3 separate regions of the Homo sapiens genome follow, and all the other regions are linked to region 1. The links are contacts of gene promoters, found by promoter capture Hi-C in human tissues and cell types (Jung and others, 2019). All regions are on one chromosome and are shown on one strand. The core of a region is centred on a gene start or on the middle of the fragment in contact, and the rest is flanking DNA. Distances in the headings are between cores, read along the strand shown. Region 1 holds the start of ENGASE (endo-beta-N-acetylglucosaminidase). Region 2 overlaps RBFOX3 (RNA binding fox-1 homolog 3). Region 3 overlaps RBFOX3 (RNA binding fox-1 homolog 3).

Region 1 (2,685 bases), core at 86-2,585:
AACACCTGGTTACATGCACCCCAGATCAAGACTGTCCACGTCCGGTGCACCCCTGAACACAGCAGGAGGGAACTTGGGGATCCACTGCCCTCGCTCACTGTAAGCTTCCCAGGACTGAAGCCCCAAAGAGGAGCCCTCTGCCTTCTCTGTCCTCCCCATGGGTCAGCGTGTCCTGCTTCTGAGTGGCCCGTCCTTCCTGCCTAACTGGCTGGCCTGCACCATGGCCCATATTCAACAACCTTAGTCATAGTTCCCACCATTGGCGTTTATGGAAGCTTGGAGCCTCATAAAGTTCAAAGTCTGCAACAATAATAAAGGCCCAGTCAACTTGGCTTGGGCGGCAGCTGCAGCCCAGCACTGGAAGCTCCTAGCTGTGGAGGGGCGTTGGGGCCTGGAGGGAGGAGAGCCTTGGTTTGCCCTGTGGGGCCCAGCCTTGAGTTCTGGCTTCTCAGGGCTCTGTTCTATCATGTTTCCTGTGAACTCCTTTTGTGCCTAAGACGCTGGGCAGTGCCACTCTTGCAGAGGTGCCACTCCAGGCCCTGCACGCTTAGGGGTAGAGCAACTACTACTGTTGGGCACAGGCGTGGGGCTGTAGAAAGAAATCCGTGTTTCACTGGAAAACTATGCATCCTACATAGGACACCAGCTTCCACATGGCCCGATACTAACCTACTAACCTTTCATCTTTTTTTTTTTTTTTTTGAGACGGAGTCTCCCTCTGTCGCCCAGGCTGGAGTGCAATGGCACCGTCTCGGCTCATTGCAGCCTCTGCCTCCCGGGTTCCAGCGATTCTCCAGTCTCAGCCTCTCAGGTAGCTGGGATTACAGGCATGCACCACCACGCCCGGCTAATTTTTGTATTTTAAGTAGAGACGGGGTTTCACCATGTTGGCCAGGGTAGTCTCGAACTCCTGACTTCAGGTGATCCGCCCGCCTCGGCCTCCCAAAGTGCTGGAATCGCAGACGTGAGTCACCGCGCCCGGTCTGAAAATTATCTTTTAATAGGGGTTAGCTGCATGAGTTAAAATCTCATTGCCACCATTTGCTGACTTTGTGCCCTCTGGGAGATTGCTTAATCTCTCTGGGATAAACCTCGGTTTGCTTGACAAAGGAAGCTGGTGAGGCTAAAGAGAGAACTCTAAGATTGGGGCGTTCCGAAGCCTTCTAGAGCCTTCTAGCACCCTGGACTCATAGCCAATGATGGGCAACAACAAGAACGACGACGAACCCTGGGCTCGGAACTCGCCCAGGCCCCGCCCCTCACAGCCCCGCCCCGTCCTCGGCCCCGCCCCCGGCCTGTCGCCTCAACAAAGTCCCCGCCGCGCGGCCGCTGGCCGGGAGTCAGCTCGGAGTCCCGTCCCAGCGCGGCGTCAGCGCTGCGCACTTCCCATTGGCCGAGCGCGGCGCGGGGGCGGGCCCGGGCCTGCGATTGCCTCTCGGCGTGCGCGGACAGTGTCATGGAGGCCGCGGCGGTGACGGTCACCCGGTCGGCTACACGGCGGCGGCGGCGGCAGCTGCAGGGGCTGGCGGCCCCGGAGGCGGGGACGCAGGAGGAGCAGGAGGATCAGGAGCCGCGGCCGCGGCGGCGGCGGCCGGGAAGGAGGTGGGGCTGCGGGGCCCGCGTGAACCCCGATCCGCGGGGCTGAGAGTCCGTGGCCCCGGGGCCCGAGGTTTCCCGGCACGGGCGCGCCGAGGGGCGGGGGGCCGGCGCCTGTGTCCGCTCCGTGCACAGTAAGGGACAGAGGGTGGCAGCGCCCCTCCGCCCCGGTCCGCCCCGCCGTCCTCGCGCCACTGCCGGGCAGCGGCCTCCGGCCCCCGTGCGTGACCCCTGCCTATCTCAGAAATACGGGTGCAAACCCGAGTGGCCGCGGGGCCCAGCGGGAATCCCGACGCCCCGGCCAGACCCCTGCTTCCCACGTCGCTGGTCTATGCGGAAGATCCCGGCGGCGGTGCTCATGCCTGGCTCAGTGGATGCCGGCTGGTGGAAGGGGTGGCCTTCTGTAGGGGTGACACTAGAACTGAGTCTTTGGGGAGGAGGAAGCCTTCAGTAGGTGGAGAATAGGGAGTAGGGTATCCAACTGGCGGGGAACAGAAAGGGCCAAAGCACAGAGACAGAAAGGGACGAACATGCCCCTCTGGGCTGGGCTTCCTTCCTTTGGGGGGCACTTGCCCACCCGGTAAACTCCCCCTCAGTAGGTTGCAGGGGGAGAAGTTAGGAGCACAGACATGGCTTCCGGAAACAGCAGCCGTAGCTTTGTTTCTAAACCCAAAGCAGTGAGACTGCTGAGCATTTCAGACCTCATGAAGATGGGATGAAGGCTGGCTGCTGGGAAAGATATTTTTGGACAGGAGGAATGTGGAGATGGCTCTTTCCCTCCTAGTGGAGGAATGACAGGTGACAAAGGTGACCTGGTGTGGGATTGTTCTGAGAAGGTCTGGGAGGGGGTGGCTGAAGTATAATAAGGACATCAACGAGGAAGGGGGCTTTGGAAAAGGAAGGTGGAGAGGAACAACTGCGGCATCTCTGCTTGAATCCGTCCCCGACCCCTGCAGTTCTCAGGGTCTCCCAATGTCATTCTGGAGGCCCTGGGTCAGTGTTTGGTGATGGCAGATGCTACAGAGGACTCTTTGCAACAGGCCTCTGAATGGCAGTGGAGTGATGGCAGATGACAACTCAGTGAACAAA
Region 2 (2,685 bases), core at 109-2,608, 210 kb after region 1:
TTATTTATGAAGTCTCTGAACCACTTGGGGTTCAGAAAATATTTTGGGAAGAGTAAAACCTAGGTTACAATATTTAATAACTTTCTTCAATGTTTTGTTATTCCAAATCCACAACCCAAATGTTTTGGTTTGTTCAGAAAATAACAGCAACAAGAAAGTCATAAAAAATAGGGAGGAGAGTGCGTGGTGATTGAGACAGGCCCTCATGGGAGCTGAAGGCTCAGAGCAGTCACAAGGAGATGGCTGGAAGCAGGCTTGGGGGAAGAGACTCGCTTTTTTTTTTTGACATGGAGTTTTGCTCTGTCACCCAGCAGGCTAGAGTGTAGTGGCTTGATCTCGACTTACTGCAACCTCTGCCTCTGGGGTTCAAGGGATTCTCCGGCCTCAGCCTCCTGAGTAGCTGGGATTACAGGTGCTCATCACCACGTCCGGGTAATTTTTGTAGTTTTAGTAGAGACGAGATTTCACTATGTTGTCCAGGCTGGTGTCGAACTCCTGACCTCAGGTGATCCACCCACCTCGGCCTCCCAAAGTGCTGGGATTACAGGGGTGAGCCACTGTGCCCAGCCAGCCTTCTCTTTTATGACTGCCCTGATGGACTTTGGGGTCATGAAGGGGCTGGAGATGGCAAGCTTGGGGCCCTTCATCCTCTGGCCCTGGTGTTCGGAGAGAAGAAGGGCAGACACAGAAGTAGACCTCGCTTTGTAAATGGTCATGGATTCAAAAGCTTGTGTGGATATTTGCAGCCTGTGTGACACCTGGCAAATGATTCCACTCCCTGTGCCTCAGTTTTCCATCCACAAAATGGGAGTGGTGCTACCTGCCTTGCGGATGTGTTGGAGGATGAGAAAGAAGATGCTTGAAAATCTCCTTCTACGACGCAGGCACATCGCAAAGAACAGCCAACCCTCCTCTGGGCTGTAACCCTCTCCTCGCTCCTGCACTGAGAAGCTGTCAGTGGCGCTGTCCCCCCTTTCTGCCCCAGCCAGGTGGATAGACAAGCTGCAGTTAATATGCCCACAAGAATTCCCATTTGCTCTTTCCTGATTTCATGCCATGGTCAGCTAATGAAACAGACCTGTTGATGAAAAGTTCCATGTGGATGCAAATGGTACTAGTTCATAACCATATATTCCTGCTCATTTACGTGATACACCCAGAGATGTTGTACCTTCATTTCTGACCATCTTCAATTAACACAGGCTCCACATACTGTAGCATACAATGCCCTGAAACCTTTCCATCAAGTAGGTAAAGATCTGTAAACCAATATTGAAATGCACTAGAGAAGCTCCATCCTACAGGAATCCTGCTGTGAGTCCCTGTGGTTTCCCGAAGATCCACTGACAGTGCCAGAAACCACCTGCTCCTTTATCTGCTTTGATAAGGCTGCATTTTCATGCATTGGTTTTTGTTTTGTTTTGTTTTTTTGAGATGGAGTCTCGCTCTGTCACCCTGGCTGGAGTGCAATGGTGCGATCTCAGCTCATTGCAACCTCCGCCTCCTGAGTTCAAGTGATTCTCCTGCCTCAGCCTCCCAAGTGTCTGGGATTACAGGCGCCCACCATCATGCCCAGGTAATTTTGTATTTTTAATAGAGATGGGGTTTTGCCATGTTGAGCAGGCTGGTCTTGAACTCCTGACCTCAGATGATCCACCTACCTCGGCCTCCCAAAGTGCTGGGATTACAGGCGTGAGCCACTGCACCCGGCCTGTGCATTGGGTTTTGTTCAAGTGGGTACATCTGTCCTACACAGAAAGTCAATGGGCAGAATGGCTGCTGGCTTGAGACCATTCCACTCAGATCAGCTGGCACTGTGACCTTCTAGAAGCTGAGTACTGGTGCAGAGTCTATTGCAAATAAATGTCCCTGGCCTGCCTCTCCGAGCCCTTGTGAGGACCCTCTGACGTCATGTGGCTGCCTTGATTGGCATTGCAGAGATTGCTTGGCTCCCATGTCATAGTGGCCACCTGGAACTTTCTAGGACTTTCTGCCCCTTAGAGAGCCTGGTAATTCCTGGCTTCTCACTGCAGGTTTTGGACTCAGTGGAGTGAGGCCACTTTCTCCACGCCCCCGGCTGCCATCTGCAGTTCTGCCCCAGAAGTATAGAGATGACTCTCCTGTCCCCATCCCCTCCTCCATCACCAAATCACCCCAGCACTTCTCTCCCCCTGCAGCCTGCTCCCAAAGACCAGCAAAGCCTGTTGAACAGAAAACGCTGAGATGGGGGTGCTTCACGCCCGGCCCCTGATGCTTATTAACTGTGCAGGGAGGGTTTGCCCATCCCTGGGCTGGCTTCCTCCTGATATGTGACAGAGCTTAATACGCTGCGGCTCCCAGCCTCGCCAGCCACCCCGAGAGAGCTGCATTTCACAAGCCTTTTGTTAACCCCCTACTGGGCTGATTCCGTGACTTTCTGGTTCTTCTCCCTTGGTGTTAAGAATGGGAAAGGGTAGGGCCCTAAAGAGGATGGAGCCAGGCTGTGCGTTAACATAGAAGCTGGAGAGGGAGGTCCCACCCATAGACCTGCTCACTGAGGGAAGACGGAGGTGCCCAGCAAGGAGGTGCCTGCTGAGGACGCCCTGGTGCCCTCCTCAGACACTGTCAGAAGCCTGGTCCCACACTGTGGGCTGAGAACGCTGTAGGGTCAGGGTTCCCTAATCCACCCTATGTGCGTGTCAAGTG
Region 3 (2,685 bases), core at 112-2,611, 160 kb after region 1:
TGGCCTTGTGCACACACCACCCAAAACCCAGGACCTAGCGAAGAGAGGCCACCTGAGGGCCGATGGCTGCATTTTCTAATTTTGTTCACACTAAATATACATTACAGATGATCTCCAACTTACGAAGGTTTGACTTACGATTGACTTTGAATTTTTCAACTTTATGTTTGTTGGGTTTATTGGGGGCATTAAGTGCTTTTTTTTTTTTTTTTTTTTTTTTTTTTTGAGATGGAGTCTTGCTCTGTTGACCAGGCTGGAGTGCAGTGGTGTGATCTCAGCTCATGCAACCTCCGCCTCCCGGGTTCAAGTGATTCTCCTGCCTCGGCCTACCAGTAGCTGGGACTACAGGCACCCGCCACCATGCCCGGCTAATTTTTGTATTTTTTAGTAGAGATAGGGTTTCGCCATGTTGGCCAGGCTGGTCTTGAACTCCTGACCTCAGGTGATCTGCCCACCTTGGCCTCCCAAAATGTTGAGATTACAAGCATGAGCCACCAAGCCCGGTCCATTAAATTTATTTTTGACTTACAATATTTTCACCTTATGATGGGTTTATCAGGACACAACCCCATTGAAGGTCCAGAAGCATCATACTTGTATAATAATCTCCCCAAAGTAAACTCTGCAAGTGAATCTGTGGAGGGGGTCAGCCACAGGTGGGTAATGGGGGTTGGAGGTACAGAGCAATGGACCAATGGGCTCAGGCAGTAGTAGCCAGTCCCCCAGCGAGGGTCAACACTGGGAACTGAGCTGGTATCCGAAGCCCCTTCCCCGAGGAGACCAGGCCATGGAGATGAGTTGGACCACCCTGGACCAGCAAGCTGGGGCTGCCTGAGGAATGGGTGGCCATGCGCGGAGCACCTGGGGTGGGGGACCTTGGGGTTGGGGGAGGGAAAGGATCAGGAAGGCAGTGACATTGCTTCTCAGGCCAGCCAGAATTGCCTAAAAACAATCGTCCTCCATCCTTACCCCATTTATCCATTTCCCTTTCAGCCCCTCCGGCTCCCAGTCCTGCCTTTCCCAGCACATTTTGGGCTCATCCATGGGGGACAAGAGAGAACACGACACAGAGGTGCTAAACGGCGCCAAGCCTTCCCTCCACAGCCCCCAAACTCTTCCTCCCTCCAGTGGCTGGGAAACCCCAGAAACTCCTGGCTTTCATTATCAGCAGCTCCCAAGATGTTCAACATGCTCATATCTGTCAAAAACTATTCAGGAAAAATAGAGAAAGTCTTTATACCTTTTATTCAGCCAATTTTCCCCGAGGCACTCTGGGCTCTCTAAGAAAAGAAAAAGAGAGAAAGGAGAGAGAATCACAATCAATGTTGTCATCATGCATCTGGTTGCTGGCGATGCTATTTGCTCATCGACTAGGGAAGTCTGGAGGTGGAAGCATCATCTCCCTGGGAGTCCAAGGAAACCTGCCTGGGTTAACCTCTGGCTGCCGTCTGCATCTCAAGCATGGCTGGGAGGCGGCGGTTAGATAACAGGCAGAGATAAAGCAAAACAGGGCACGGTGGACCGGCCACCCAGAGGTTTCAGACTCATTTTCTCTGCGACTCTGGATGTTCCTTTTTTTCCCCCACCTCAAACTCCAAGCACTCCCCAGCCTGGTTTGAGGTTGTCCACAAACGCAGGCCTTGTGGCTTGTTGATGGTGACGTTTAGTTTCACACTGGGTTTCCTCTGCCATGCCGTGGGGATTTGCTTCCTCCTCCAGGTGTAGGGCGGGGGTCACTTTGAGTGTGGTCATGGCATGCACATTCATTTTATTTATTTATTTGTTTTTGGAGATGGAGTCTCGCTCTGTCTGGAATGCAATGGTGCGATCTTGGCTCACTGCAACCTCCGCCTCCTGGGTTCGAGCGATTCTTGTGCCTCAGCCGCCCTAGTAGCTGGGAGTACAGGTGTGTGCCACCCCGCCCAGCTAATTTTTTGTATTTTTAGTAGAGACGGGGGTCTCGCCATGTTGCCCAGGGTGGTCTCAACCTCCTGAGCTCGGGCAATCCACCCACCTTGCCCTGCACATTCATTTTATGTTATTAAAGAAAAGTTATTTAACAAATTCTAAATCCCACCAAACACATAATTATAGAGGCAATCGTTGTATGTTATTGTGAATCAGGTGCACCTACCAGCAGCAGGAACAGCTCAGTGATACGGACAGACTGGCAAGGACCACCACTCACTCACTTTATAATCCAGGGCCCGGGGCCAGGGTATCCACTCCTGCCTAAGTCACAAAGCTAGCTCACTGGGGCCTGGGACTCCACACGAGTGCCTGGAGACCTTCCTTTTCTTAGTAGGTCATTGAGGAGTTCAGAAACAAAGGGGTGTGTGTATAGTGTGCTTTAAACAAACTTAGATTTCCTTCCTTTATTTTAGTAATGTTTCATAATTTTCTGTGTACATGACTTGCACATTTTTTAATTGTGGTAAAATATACATAATATACAATTTACAATTTTAACCATTTTCAAATGTACAATTCAGTGGTATTGAGTGCATTCACACTGCTGTCAATCACTGCTGCTCTCTGATGCCTGAACCTTTTCGTTGCTCCAAAAAGAATATCCATACCTGTTAAGATGCCACTCCCTGCCCCCAGCCTCCTGTGCATATGTGTATGTGTGCGTATTTTTTAAAACTTAGTGCAAAAAATAAAAGCAAGTGAAAAGCTTCTGGA

What was found. The method cuts DNA at HindIII sites, captures the fragments that hold promoters and counts their contacts. A contact is called where the count stands out against the background at its distance.
Region 2: a contact is called between a fragment that was not itself captured here and the fragment with the promoter of ENGASE in region 1, in 2 of the 25 tissues and cell types used here (dorsolateral prefrontal cortex and thymus).
Region 3: a contact is called between a fragment that was not itself captured here and the fragment with the promoter of ENGASE in region 1, in 3 of the 25 tissues and cell types used here (liver, lymphoblastoid cells and mesendoderm cells).

What each region holds. Positions count from the first base shown.
Region 1 is chr17:79,073,489-79,076,173 of GRCh38, forward strand. It overlaps ENGASE (endo-beta-N-acetylglucosaminidase), which reads left to right and starts at 1,336. Exons shown (of 14, transcript NM_001042573.3): 1 at 1,336-1,602. The coding sequence starts at 1,457. RefSeq lists a silencer at 1,198-1,737. The HindIII fragment of the contact is 14,853 bases long and covers 1-2,685 here.
Region 2 is chr17:79,284,271-79,286,955 of GRCh38, forward strand. The region is part of intron 3 of RBFOX3 (RNA binding fox-1 homolog 3); the gene reads right to left. Among named protein-coding and RNA genes, the nearest start is that of ENGASE, 210 kb to the left of the region's middle. The HindIII fragment of the contact is 4,236 bases long and covers 1-2,685 here.
Region 3 is chr17:79,234,526-79,237,210 of GRCh38, forward strand. It overlaps RBFOX3 (RNA binding fox-1 homolog 3), which reads right to left. Exons shown (of 15, transcript NM_001350451.2): 4 at 1,241-1,280. Among named protein-coding and RNA genes, the nearest start is that of ENGASE, 160 kb to the left of the region's middle. The HindIII fragment of the contact is 7,036 bases long and covers 1-2,685 here.